Linked DNA regions of Homo sapiens: regions 2, 3, 4 and 5 are each linked to region 1. The links are contacts of gene promoters, found by promoter capture Hi-C in human tissues and cell types (Jung and others, 2019). All regions are on one chromosome and are shown on one strand. Each heading gives the region's core, a stretch centred on a gene start or on the middle of the fragment in contact. The rest is flanking DNA. Distances are from core to core; before and after follow the strand shown. Region 1 holds the start of NLGN1 (neuroligin 1). Region 2 overlaps NLGN1 (neuroligin 1). Region 3 overlaps LOC105374224 (a long non-coding RNA gene). Region 4 overlaps NLGN1 (neuroligin 1). Region 5 overlaps NLGN1 (neuroligin 1).

What was found. Contacts are between HindIII fragments. The study calls those that stand out against the background at their distance.
Region 2: a fragment that was not itself captured here is called in contact with the fragment with the promoter of NLGN1 in region 1 in 1 of the 25 tissues and cell types used here (hippocampus).
Region 3: a fragment that was not itself captured here is called in contact with the fragment with the promoter of NLGN1 in region 1 in 2 of the 25 tissues and cell types used here (H1 embryonic stem cells and mesendoderm cells).
Region 4: a contact is called between a fragment that was not itself captured here and the fragment with the promoter of NLGN1 in region 1, in 4 of the 25 tissues and cell types used here (H1 embryonic stem cells, adrenal gland, hippocampus and 1 more).
Region 5: a fragment that was not itself captured here is called in contact with the fragment with the promoter of NLGN1 in region 1 in 3 of the 25 tissues and cell types used here (H1 embryonic stem cells, mesenchymal stem cells and neural progenitor cells).

What each region holds. Positions count from the first base shown.
Region 1 is chr3:173,396,296-173,398,995 of GRCh38, reverse strand. NLGN1 (neuroligin 1) reads right to left here and starts at 1,252. Exons shown (of 7, transcript NM_001365925.2): 1 at 933-1,252. RefSeq lists an enhancer at 2,484-2,700. The HindIII fragment of the contact is 5,603 bases long and covers 1-2,700 here.
Region 2 is chr3:173,589,852-173,592,551 of GRCh38, reverse strand. The region is part of intron 1 of NLGN1 (neuroligin 1); the gene reads right to left. Among named protein-coding and RNA genes, the nearest start is that of NLGN1, 190 kb to the right of the region's middle. The HindIII fragment of the contact is 5,962 bases long and covers 1-2,700 here.
Region 3 is chr3:173,236,468-173,239,167 of GRCh38, reverse strand. The region is part of intron 3 of LOC105374224 (a long non-coding RNA gene); the gene reads right to left. Among named protein-coding and RNA genes, the nearest start is that of SPATA16, 97 kb to the right of the region's middle. The HindIII fragment of the contact is 3,644 bases long and covers 1-2,700 here.
Region 4 is chr3:173,546,541-173,549,262 of GRCh38, reverse strand. The region is part of intron 1 of NLGN1 (neuroligin 1); the gene reads right to left. Among named protein-coding and RNA genes, the nearest start is that of NLGN1, 150 kb to the right of the region's middle. The HindIII fragment of the contact is 6,570 bases long and covers 1-2,722 here.
Region 5 is chr3:173,528,410-173,531,109 of GRCh38, reverse strand. The region is part of intron 1 of NLGN1 (neuroligin 1); the gene reads right to left. Among named protein-coding and RNA genes, the nearest start is that of NLGN1, 130 kb to the right of the region's middle. The HindIII fragment of the contact is 5,549 bases long and covers 1-2,700 here.

The sequences.
Region 1 (2,700 bases), core at 3-2,502:
AATGCTGAGACATTTTATAGGTTTTACACTCAAACATAGGTACACATACCCTTTCTCAGTGACATTTTAATATCTATGATCCTATTAATAATTGAGCACAATTAATGGTGAGAAATGCATTAAGACCCTGTAATTTTCATGTACAGCATGACAACTCAATTGACTTAAGCAAAAATAGTCTACCGGAGTTTGAGTATAAAAAGAGGGAAAATGAGTATATTAACTACCTGTAAAAATGCAGAGTAACAGATACTGGGTTAACTATACGAATTCACGTTTCCCAAGTGTTATATGTATCACTATGGCCCTGGAAATGCAAAAAGAAATAGTACCTTTGTGGAGGCCAACTGTTCATGATTTAGAATTATCACAAATGAATCAAATATTGGACATGTAATATCCCTCATCTCTATAACACACTAACAACCTCCTCTGGAAGAAATTATTCCCAATGCAAAATCTCAACCTAAATAATTTTAAATTCAGGTGGTTTTTCATTTCTACTCACAAGGCATTGTGTTGAGGCGGGCAGGAGTCGGTGGAGAACGGTTTAAATGTTTGGAATACCTTCTCTTCCCAGGAGAGTTTATTGCCCAATAATGCATAATATATTAGTTGCTCAACGCGGGGGATCTAGGGAGTGACATCTTGACTGGAAACACACAGATCTGAAAACCACCTCTCAGGAAACGTTGTGGGGAAGAAGAGCAACTTTCTTATCCCTGTCAAACTAACCGGCGGAACCAACCCCAGAACTAGCCGGAGGGCCTGGGGAGAGCAGAAGGCTGAAAGCAGCTCCTCTGCGCTCCGCCGAGGGTTCAGGCAAGGGTTTTCTTCTGGAGGCGGCATTGTTCCTCCATCTGCTCAGCCTCCGTATTTCGCCAGGAAACCCTCCCCGCTTTCTCGTAATCTGTTCCTTATTTCTTTTGTACCTCTCAGCCGATTTCCATGCTCTTGGTCTCTGTGGTCCCAGGGCACAGCTCTAGGGTGAAGAGCTGCAGTGACTGGGGCGCCGCTCTAAGGCTTTGGAGGCGACTGCACTCCGCCCGGGCTCTGGCAGCGTGAGCGCCGCACAGTCGCTCGCTCCCTTCTCTCCGGTCTCTCCGGCTCGGACGGGCTCTCCCGGCCTCTCATCACCCACTCCGACTCGCCTTTCCTGCCGTGTCTCCCCACGCCAGCTCCGCGCGCTCGGCGCTGGCCGCCCGGGCGCGCTCTCCGCGCCGCCGCCTGATCCTCGGCTTACAGCCGCGGCGCTCCCCCGCCCGCCCACAGGCCGGGACTCCGAATTGAAGGGTCAACCCTCCGCGGGGAGGCGGGGAGGAGCGGCGAGGAGAGCTGGGGCAAGTGGGGAGCCGCGGGTGGGGGGACTGACGGGGGAACGGGAGAGTGAGGCCAAGAAGAAAGAAGATGCATCTGCTCCGAAGACGCCAATGAAGAAAGGACAGAGGGGGCAGGAGTGGAGTGGGGGAGAGAACGCCCACCAGGAGGGTGGGCAAAACGGGCAATTTACAAACTGCCGGGGCTGGAGATGCCGCGCGGAGGAGGAAAGAGGTTAGCGGCACAGAAGAAGAAATGAGGGGAAGTTCCCACATCTCCCCAAAAGGTCACGTTTGAAAACCGTGTCCCTTGAACGGGAGTTAAACAAGCGACTGGCCATGGTGTAAAAGGTGGATTTAAAAGGAAATTTAGTGTCATGTACTTATTTAGACACGGCTTCGTCTCGCTCAACTCTGGCAAATTACCCTCCAAGTAAAATGTATTGGTTTTATGCAGAAACGGAAGGCGAATCTCCTCCACTGTGGACTCCTCCTGAGATTGGTTTGTTTGCTGGTTATCTTTCTTTTTAAATGAAAAAAAGCGTTTGGGAGCTTCCATGAACCCCAACGCTTAAAAAAAACCACCCAGTTTATTAAAGTTCATTATTTTTTATTGCTTTTATTTTCATCAGAGGATAGGGTGAGGGACTGGCATCTTCAGATGTTTAAAACACTTATTTAGGTAGCATTATTTTTTATAAAGGACACGATTTCCTAAAACCGCCAGAAAGGCTATTGGAAAACTCAGCTACTAGCCTGGGAAAGAGAGACGCATTTAAACTCAAATAGACGATTATACCTCCAGCACCCCCCACCCCCACCCCAATGGGATTGGAAAAGGGTTGAGTTTACAGAAGAGAGAGAGCAGAGAAGGGTGGGTGGAAGGTGGGGAAGGCGAAGGAGAGGCAGGGAATAGGAAGTTCTCGGCAATCCCCGGGATTAAGGTAAACGCCGGAGCTCGGCGGACGCAGGAAGCTCCCTTACCTTTCTCTCTAAGCCCCGTTTGCACCTGATCTGCAACCATAAATACTTCGTGGTGCTTAGTGTGCAGCCAAACGATGGCCAAATGTTAAACAATTCTTCACGCTCCCTCCCCCTTTTAAAAAACAGGCTCAAAAGAATGTTAATAGTGTTCTTGTTATCCATCGGCTCCAAAACATTCCGTTTCGTGGGGAGGAGAGACGAAAACCAGGCCCTTGGGCACGCGTATATGTATTTATATATTATGCGGTCGGTATATAAACATATATACGTTTCCTGCATGTAAATCCAAAATGAAAAGCACCACAGATGCTTCTGTAAACGGGAGGGGACAGCGAAGAGCAAAACTTGGCAAGCCAAATGTATCCAGAGATTTCGTACCAGGAGCCACCTGCTTCAATAT
Region 2 (2,700 bases), core at 180-2,679, 190 kb before region 1:
GAGGTGGAAACAAATGACAATACAATGGAAATTTCTCATCATGTAGGCGTGTGCATAGATATCCATGTAGACTGGCAGCTAATTCCACTATTGTGTGGCAAAAAAGAAAATACAATAAGATTCTAAGATGCCATAATAGCTTTTCTGACAACAAAAAGAGAAAAAGATTAAGGTGACAGCATCGTCTTCTGCATTACAAAACTGAGTATTTCTGCTATAACCATCATTACAACTAATGGCGAAATATTAGACAGCTTCTTCTTTATTTTGTTATTCTGAAGAGGAGGGCTGAAAAAAAATTTAACATTAACTATATAAGTTTTACTTTCTATTTATTCTGAAACTATTTTCAGGTGTAATCTCCAAATATTAATTGTTAAATCTAGAATCTACTTAGGAAGCCTGACTTCCAAATGAACAGGGAGGTGAAGGGGGCAAGAGGGGCAAAAATCAATGAGGCAGAATGTTATTCAAAAGTCATGGGCAACAGTTTTAATGTATATGTAAAATACCACAGGATACATTTTTAAAACCAATTGATGACCCTGTGATCCCACAGAAGAAAATGAATAATCACTCAAGAGCTCAGAAGAGACAGCCTGGTAGAGCTGATTACTTCCCTTGATATTAAGTTGATGATTTTGTCTGGAAGGGGCCACCTTTGGGTCACAAGTCATTGCTTCCAGAAGCAACTTAATTATGCCTGCTAGTATCTTTATAGAGAAGCTAGCACAACCTAAGAAGAGTGCTACAGTCTCAACTCATTCTTTAAGCTTATTTTTGTGTGTAGTGAGTTGCTCATGCCTGGGAAGAGTGGAAAATTGCCATTCCTGGTTCCCTGCTTAATTAAAGTCCAGTTAAAAAAAATCCCTTGTTGCCAGAGAATAGCTGCAACTTTGGCAGAGGCAGTGCTAAGTTTGAGTATGGCCCTGTGCCAGGGTGTGTCAATCTTGACCCCTTGGAGGATGATCAGCAGAGAGTGGGTAGTTAAACCTTTGTGTCCATTCAGTCCCAGGCTTTTGCTGGAATTGGCAAATACTGTGGTGACTATTGTTTAAGGAGTAGCTGTCTACTAGGAACTGGACTAAGACCACCAACGCCTTTCACATAAGGCACCGAACAGCAATAATGGTTTCCTGTCACTCCTGACCTGGCTTAGAGCTCAACCAGTGATCCAAAGGAGAAAGAATATCACACTAGCAATCTCCTTTATATATCTACATCATTTTCTTCCTTCATATAAAAGTTGCATTAGTACTAATAACAATAACAAAATTCAAAATAATGCCCTGTTCATGGGCCATTTGTGTAACACAAATAGTATATCAATATATTAATGAATAGAATAGAATATTAACAAGAATTTAATATACACATGGAATATAGGTTGCCAAATAAAGTCACCATTTAAATTCAAATTTTATAATAGGGAGAATGGGATTATAAAGTTTTACAAAATGGAAAAAGATCTTAAGTAATGACGAAAATCCCAAACCGTTATATTTTAAATCTTATTGTCTTATTGTTCACGTTCTACCTGTTTGAAATAACTTTTAGTAATTCCAACGTTCCCTGAGATATCACATTTTCTTCATGGAAGAAAATAGCTCTAATGTACCTTCAGTAAATTATAACAATATAAATAATCCTACTACACTTGTAAGTCTTGATCAAATAATTTATCAAAGTGAAGTATATAAACTCTATATGAAATCACTAAAAAGCCTCAGTTACTATTTGTCTCTAATTAATATTCAATTTTTGAATAGAATCCTTCCTCCCTTTGGAATTTTGTACATTATTTAAAATTATTTGTCAATTCAAATAACTACTGATTATACATTTTTTAAAAAGCAAAAATGAAGATCCCAGGTATTCATTACATAAAGAGGTTACATGTTTAGTTACTAACATCCAAGGCTAGAACACAAGTCGATTTTCATTCATTCATTCAATAAACGTTTATTGATTTCCAGTTATGTACCAGGTACTGTTCTCTAGGCGATGAAGAGAAATACACTCAGCTCCGAACAAACCAGACAAAAATCCCCTACTATGGTGGAGGTTATACAGACTACTAGTACAGTATTCCTTCAAAACAAAAAACGCTTTCCTTCTTAGATGTTGTTATTAAAGACCGTGGCGTGAAATAACAGGGACTTTTGGCATCAATCTTGTAGTAACATATGTATTAGAACACTTGGCACAGTTAAACAGGTAATGAAACTGGTGACTTTTTCTACCCATAAGAAAAAGAATAGATAACACTGTCACTTATGTGTAAAGTGTTGGACAGTAAGTAATACAGATTTAAATTAGAAATGACAGATGCACTGACTTGTAACATAATGGTTGCTGAAGTGAACTTTTATTCCTTTTAGCTCTATAGTTAACTATTAAATTGCTCAAGTTTTATTTTCAAGGTGTGAATATTGTGACAACCATTCACAATATTCACAACGTTCTATGCTGTAATCACTTTTTCTGGTCAGTTCTGTCATAGAAGTGGTGGTTGTCACATGGAAAAAAACTTTTACTAATGATAATCTCAACCTGGATTTTATCAACTCAATATTACTTGATTACATGTTTGAACTTGTTGATCTTCCAAGCATAGAAAGTATTCCATATGACAATATGAGAGTACTCATTGTGACTGTTTTTTAAAAAGCAATGACAATTTTCAATTCATTTTCAAAC
Region 3 (2,700 bases), core at 62-2,561, 160 kb after region 1:
AATAGCAATTTCACGAGAAAGCACATGACTAAATTAAGCCAAAGAGAAGGCCACGGAATGAATAAATGTCATTTATAGCACTATGTTCACCCACAGCTGACAGTATCCAGCATTATTAGTTCACATTCTATTCTAGTGCACTTTGCATTTTACTGCTATTACTTTTGGTAAGATGTAATCTTAACATGTTGGTTTTCTTAAAAAAGTATGAACCAAAACAATATAGGCATTATGTAAGCATTATTCTCTTATTTACCAATCTTACATGAGCTAATTCTTGTTACAGAACACTAGCAGTAGCAGAAATCTTACCATATATAACAATTTACTACTAGAGGGGAATTAATAGCCTTAAATGCCTTTATTAGAAAACACACGGAAACTTAGTTGGTATTTACATAGGCTGAATCTAATCAGGAGAAAGAAATCAGGGGAAGTTTAAAATCATTTTGATATAAAGAATTATTGATTATGATAGAAGAGTTACCATAATGATAGACAGAGAACTCTAATGGAAATTGATCCAAGGCCTGAGAGCGAGTGCCCAAGGAAAGACAAATTTGAAAAGATGTTCAAACCTTGTAGAGGAAAATATGGTTGTGGCTCAGTTAGTTAAGGAAAGAGTTTGCTGGATTGCTAAACCAAAGCTGGTCCTCAGTGGCTAGACAAGCAGGAACAACTCTCTGGAGTGCAGAGAAGTTAAAGCTGTGGACAGATATCAGATGGAGTTGAGGCATCACTGGGAAAATGAAGAATAGTGCTGTGTTTGTGTCAGGAAGAAAATAAACCTTCAAGACACAAACAAGTTAGAATGACAAATAGGCACTGAGAAGCATTCCGGAAGAGTGGGGTTTGGGGCAGTACGGAAGTGAAGAGTGAGTGGGCAGGGAGATTAGAGAGTGGAGGGAAGGAGGAAGTCACCGCAATGGTTGCTAGTGAAACCAGGAGCTGGAGAAGCCTTCCTCTACAGGAATCTAGCATTCTTCTTTTGTACAGTATGGGCTGAGTGATTCTGGGACAGCTTCTAGGAGTTAAGATTGGGAAGCAATGTCATTAAATGGCCAATCCACTGGGGCCCCAAGCCTGGTTCATGTGAGACTGAGGGGAGAGTGCAGGGAGTAGGGATCTTGGCCAAGGCTGTAGCCCATGCTATGTAAGAGTTTGGTCTGTGTTGCTGCTGCTTAAGTCAATGGCTGCAAAAAGCACACAGTAGCCAAACACTGTATAAAGCTGATCCCTATCAGCACCGAGCCCTGAAGATTCTGTGCAGGCCAAGCAGTGGATAAAAAGGCATATTCTATAGCAGTCGATGAGCAACCCTCTCCAGAAGCAGGAAGAAAAATCTTTCTCCTTCAATGTCCCTTAAGATCTCTCAGTAGGCAAAAGAGAAATATTTATAAGGCCAACTCCTTTTCTCTTTTTTTAAAGTGTGAATTTGGAGCTGAGAGGCAATAAATCAAAGACCATCACAGTATTCATCTTGGGAAGCTAGAAAAAGATAAATAAATCCAGAGAACATTGAAAGAAAACAATAATGAAGAAAAAAGGCAAATTCAAATAAATGAAAAATACAATAAAAGAATCAATAAACCTAAAACACTTGTTTTTGAAAAAACAACTAAAAGGAGCAAAGCTGTTTCAGGATTGATCAAGAAAAACATAATAAAAACCCATAATAAATTTAAGAAGTATAAAGGTAGAATTATAGCAAAGACATACAAATAAAATAACACTATAAATACATTTAAGCCACGACATTTGAAAACTTAAGGAAATAAAAAATGAAAAATTGTACAGCCACTTTGAAAAACAGTTTTGGAGTTTTTTAAATGCTAAACATACACGTCACATGACACCTTACTATTCTGCTACTATATATGTACCCCAAAAAGATGAAAATGTAATTAATCTAAAGACTTGTGCATAAATGTTTACAGCAGTTTAAAAGATAATAGCCTAAACCTGGAAATAACCGAAGTGTTCATGAACAGGTGAATAGACAAATAATTTGGAAAGAACTAGAATTATTGATATATGCAAAATCATGAGTAAATCTCAAAAAGCATGCTGTGTGACAGAAGCTAGACATAAACAATGTATACCATATGATTCTGTTTGTATAAAACAATGGAAAACAATCTGATCTATTCTTACAGAAGACATATCATTGCTTACCCGTGGGCAGAAGAGATGATTTGGTGGACTGGGAAAGAGAACAAGGGATTGTTTTAAATAATAAAAATGCTTGGCTGGGTGCAGTGGCTCATGCCTGTAATCCCAGCACTTTGGGAGGCTGAGGTGGTGGATCACGAGGTCAGGAGATCAAGACCATCCTGGCTAACATGGTGAAACCCCGTCTCTACTAAAAATACAAAAAATTAGCCGGGCGTGGTGGCGGGCCCGTGTAGTCTCAGCTATTCAGGAGGCTGAATTAGGAGAATCACTTGAACTGGGAGGCAGAGCTTGCAGTAAGCTGAGATCGAGCCACTGCACTCCAGCCTGGGTGACAGAGTGAGACTCCGTCTCAAAAAAAAAAAAACAATTCTTTATCTTGACTGTGGTAGTGATTATGTGAGCGATATGTTTTTCAAAACTCATCAAATTACACACATGTGATAGGTTCTGGTTATATTATATTAATTTATCTTATTAAAGCTGACTTCAGAGAAAATAATTACAGTTGCTACAAAAATGTAGGGT
Region 4 (2,722 bases), core at 73-2,572, 150 kb before region 1:
TTTACTCAGGAAACAGGTAAGTATGAGTGAAAAGAAAAATCTTGATACTCTCAAACATATAATTTATCTGGATTTGTTATCTAGTTGTGTGAAAAGGGAATAGTTACAAACTATTTCAATCCACAATGATGGTGAACATATTTGTAGTCTTCAGTACTTTAAAAAACCAATGCGTAAACATGTTTTAACACAAATTTTTTTTGAAATGAAAGCAATTGTGGTAAAAATGACATAATATAGAAATATATATCCACAATTCGTAAGGAGTAACAATAGAACAATGTTTTTCAAACTGCAGTACGTAAGCCATTAAGCATGCATGAAATAGATCTAATGGTATATGGCCAGATACTTGAGTTATTTTTTAGTGGTACCGTGTAGAATAAATACTAGAATATGTCAGAGGACATTACACATAGCAAGGTAAGAATCATTTAATAGAATCTCCACTTCAAATTATATTCATATAGAAATAGATATACTTTCATATATATAAATATATACATATATACTTTCATACACACACGTGTTAGCGTGTTTGTGTTCGCTAGATTCTAATATTAAATACATATATTTCTTTCTACAGGCCTTGGTCAAAAGTTTCAAGCTGTTTCAATAGTATAAAAATCCAGCCTTCATTACCAAACTAAAATCACATACTGTATTTTCCTTCAGAAAGTTGTCTTAAAACTCATTGATGCCAATTAGCTCTACAGGCAGATCACACTGCTTCTATAACCACTACAGAAGCATCACATGATCTACAAAAAAAAAAAAAATGTGAGGTGCTGGTATCACTCTGGGTTCCAAGCACAGTTCCCAGTTTACTCTAGTTTCCTCATGCTTTCTCTTTCACTTTTTCATTATAGTAAGGCATACACGATTTAAAAGTCTGGCTGATCTATAGGAAGCATTTCAGAATCATTTTACATAGGTTTTTGTATCTTCGTCTGCCTTGGTCAAATGTCATCAAAGCTTCTTTGATATATTGACCAGAAATTAATTTTAGAGAAGCACAATAGATTTACAGCCCCTATTTGCAAAGGCAATAAACTATGAGGTCCAGAGAAACAGTGATTAACAAGGTGGCTGCATATGGTAAGTGAAGGGCCAAAAGTGTTTGGTTTTGGTAGGCACTGGCTTGGAACAAGTAAAATAGAGACAATCTCAATGAACTTTTTGAACTTTTGAGTGTTAGAGAAAGAAGTAAATGCGTAAGTAAATTAACGAATAAGTTATTATAGTGGGAGAAAATGATTGTGGGGAGGGAATGAAATACCTTAGCACTACTCCCGAGATAGTGCTTTGAGGAAAAAAAAAATTAAAACATGTTCAGGTTTTGTTCTTATAAGCCATTAGAAGGAGACATCTGGCCTCCTTACCAAGACTTCCGTTCCTACCCCCCTGTAATAGAAATTGTACTCCTTCCTGCTGGCCCAGAATTGTAATCAGACCACCTTCATTTTATATAGACCCCAAGAGAGTACTAACAACTTCTGATTGCTGATAGCCTGGGAAGAATTCAAACCACTAATCCATTGTCTGTAAGTACTTTATTCTCATCCCAATGCAATAAACAATCTAATTCGCTAAAAGCTGACACATAATACCTAGTATGAAGAGAAGAACTTATGTTTAGTAGCAACCTGAGGAAAAATAAGTATATAAGATCAACAAAGAAGCATCAGTGTGGTTCATTGGAGATCTGGGACTGCATATCTGGATATAATATTGGATAAATTGAGAAAATTAGGGCAATCATGGATCAAAAGTTATAACACAGCATTTTTGTGCGTTGCAGAGACCCTTCAGGGAAACCCAGGCTCCGCAGCACATTCATTTATCAAAGGCATAATGACCCGATAACATTCTTCTGGAGACAGTGTGGAAACTATTTCCTTTTTAAAGGAAAGGCACCTGTGGAACTAATTAGGATGAAGTACTTCTTTCAGAGTATGCGCTATAATCCTGTTGAGTGAATGAAAGATTTACAAGACTGTAGTTCATAATGATAGAGAACTCAAATGACAGTTGATGGTGGTCTGTAGTAAGAAAACAAGATTTGGAGAGATTCAGACTAATATTCGCTGAAGTAGTCATGAGAAAAAAAATAGCAATTTTACCCAAGAATAATTTAAATAATGCAAGTCTTTCGAGTCCCAAGTTTAATTAACAAGTATGCCAAAGTGGAGTATCTCCAAAATGAACATCTTACTTATAGAAACATGGGAATGTTCTGAAAAAATGGGTTCCTCCAGGGAGTAAGCAAGGGACTTATAATAAGAGGGCACATTATTATTTTATACTGTTTAATTTTGTACTCATTGCTTTTTTATGCATATGCACATATTACTTTCTAAGTTATAAATAATATTTGCAAGGAAATAGTATTTCTCATTATAATCAAGAATATAAGATATTTAATCATTTTCTTCTTCATCCAAGATATAGAACATTGGTGGACACTGCTCAACTTTATGTGTATAAGTAAAAGCCTGTGTAAAGGAATGATTCTTGACAGTTGTTATCATTTCATTATCAGTTGAACAATAATCCATGAATTTAATAGCGCAGCCCAGCTGCCAAGGCTTATCATACCTATACATAACAGACAGAGGAAATATAGCGGAATATTAGAACTATAGCCTGGAAAAATTCAGAAACCTCAGATCTAGTGGAATATAATTTATGTGCATTTTTCTTTTTTGTTACTCCTATGAGA
Region 5 (2,700 bases), core at 107-2,606, 130 kb before region 1:
GTGTCACAATACACAGCCATAAATTTTTTCTAATAAAGTAATTGTATATTCTAAAAATGAAGAGCAGAGTAGGTCAAACACTAGCAAAAATGAAAGTGAGAATTTTAGAAGAAAGAACGATTTTAAAAGCTTCAGAAAATGGTAGAACTGGAAAATTATGTCAATTAAAGCAAAGCCCAAGAAAACCCAAAATACTTTTAAAAACTCATTTTAAAAAATGAGCATCGAACAGTAAAAATAATTTTAACTAAAGCAAAGAGCATTTAAATATAATTATAAACTAAATGACAAAAGAAAAATGATGAACTATAAAGAGCCTAGAAAGTAATTATTTAAACTCTGTTTTCAGAATTAAAACAAAAGAGCAGGCATTTGCTCAGCATCAAATCAGATTTTTTAGTAGAAAGGTGAAAAATTAAAGAACCATCAGATTAACACTTTAAATAACAACTCAATAATGTTTTCTCTGCTGATAGAAGACCAACGCCAACAGCTTTCAATAAAAAGTACTAAATTAAGTAAATATGATGAAAATTTTTAATTCACTCATATGGTTAAATATCTGTAAGTAATTTAACTAAACTCACCTCAGAAAATTACCCTCACGAATAGCTTTTATGTTTGAGGGTGATATCTACTACTTTCCAACAGAAAATATCTCTCCCCTAGGTGAGTTTAACTTCTGTTTCATTCATCCACACCCTCTCTCTTCCAGGACGACAACACATAGAACTCATCAGTGTCCTTTATTCCTTCCTCTCATTGACCAAATGGGGATCATAATACCTACCTCAGAGTCACAGTGGGAATGAAAACAAGGCTGGTGCAACTAGGCACACAGAAAGTGCCCCATAAGGTCGGGCATGGTGGCTCACGCCTGTAATCCCAGCACTTTGGGAGGCCGAGACAGCAGGATCACTTGAGGTCAGGAGTTCAAAACTAGCCTGGCCAACATGGTGAAACCTTGTCTCTACTAAAAATACAAAAATTAGCCAGGCATGTTGGTGTGTAACTGTACCAGCTACTCAGGAGACTGAGGCAGGATAATTGCTTGAACCCAGGAGGCGGGGGTTGCAGTAAGCTGAGATCGCGCCACTGCACTCCAGCCTGGGTGACAGAGTAAGACTCTATCTAAAAAAAAAAGGAAAAGAAAGTGTTCCATAAGTTAGGAACATGGGAGTTGGGGAATTACCTAGTCCATTTCTACACCACTGACACCTGACCACTCCACCCAGGGCTAGAGGCCGGTCAACCCAACCAGCCAACTCCACCACAGCTAATACCCAGCCTCACGCACATCCTGAAAGGTATCCTCCCCTTCTCTACACAAAGTAGCAACATTACTGCATTGACGAACAGGTTAGCCACAAAGCCGTCTTTATTGGGTGGAACAAAGAGGTTCCACCCCAAAACCGTTCCTACTGAGAGCTGAGGGTCAGGCATTTCCCACGGCATTCAGCTGCACTGTGGCCTAGAGATAGATGGACAAATGGTGTGGATCTGAACTAAGAGTCACAAGCCCCCAGGACAGGGGTGTGATAAACAGATCAAGTTCTTGCCGATCTAGGGCATGCAGCTGGTGCAGCCTCTTCAACCCCAGCAAAGATCTCAGTGCATTTAACCAGGAGCCCCCACTGTCACCCCCTTAAGTCTGGTGCTTGTGCTCTTCATTGGAGTATTCATGGGCAAGCCAGGTGGCCCAGATCTGCCCATCTTTGTCCCCCCTTCACCCCGAACAGGGCTGCCCAGCCCATCACATGAAACAACAGAGAGCACCTCACAGTAAACAAGTGTCAAGTACGTACTCACCTGCTTTTGCGCTGCTGGCTCTTACCCGGAAGTGCCACCTACTGGCCGGTAGGTCAAACCACACAATGCAATATAAAACCTGCCAACAGAAGTGCACAGGACCATAGAAGCAAAGCCAAAAGGCCCCTACCTAACATACTGTACAGTCACATCCTCAAGGTGGGGTGGGAAATAAATAAAATAAAGATAGATTTTTAAAGTTCCATCCAAACAAAAGTAACTTCAAAAGCAAGAAGTGTCAGCTTCCCTAGATGATAAGGATCCAGCATAAGAATTCTGGTACCATGTAAAATCTGAATGCTGTGAAACCATCAAAGGATCACACTAGCTCTCTAGCAATGGACCCTAACCAAAATGAAAATTCGGAAATTACATAAAAATTCAAAGTATAGATTGTAAGAAAATTCAATGAGATCAAAGAAAAGGTTGAAAACCAACACACAGAAACCCTAAAAGCAACCCAGGAAATGAAGGAAGAGATAGATGTCTTAAAAACAAAAACAAACAGAACGTTTGGAAATGAAAAATCCACTTAAATGAGTTCAAAATACAGTTGAAAGCTTTAAGAGTAGACTAGACCAAGCAGAAGAAATCATTTCAGAGCTCGAAGATTGGTCTTTCAAATTAACCCAGTTAGACAAAAGTAAAGAGAAAATATGTTTTAAAAAATAAACAAAGCCTTGGAGAAATATGGAATTATGTGAAGTGACCAAACCTATGAATTATAGTTACTCCTGAGAGAGAAGAAGAAAAACTAAGAAATGTGGAAAACATATTTGAAGGAATAATGCAGGAAAATTTCCTTGATCTTGCTAGAGATGCAGAAATTCAGATACAATAAACTGAGAAAACAACTGGATGTTACTATACTAGATGAATATCATCAAGGCA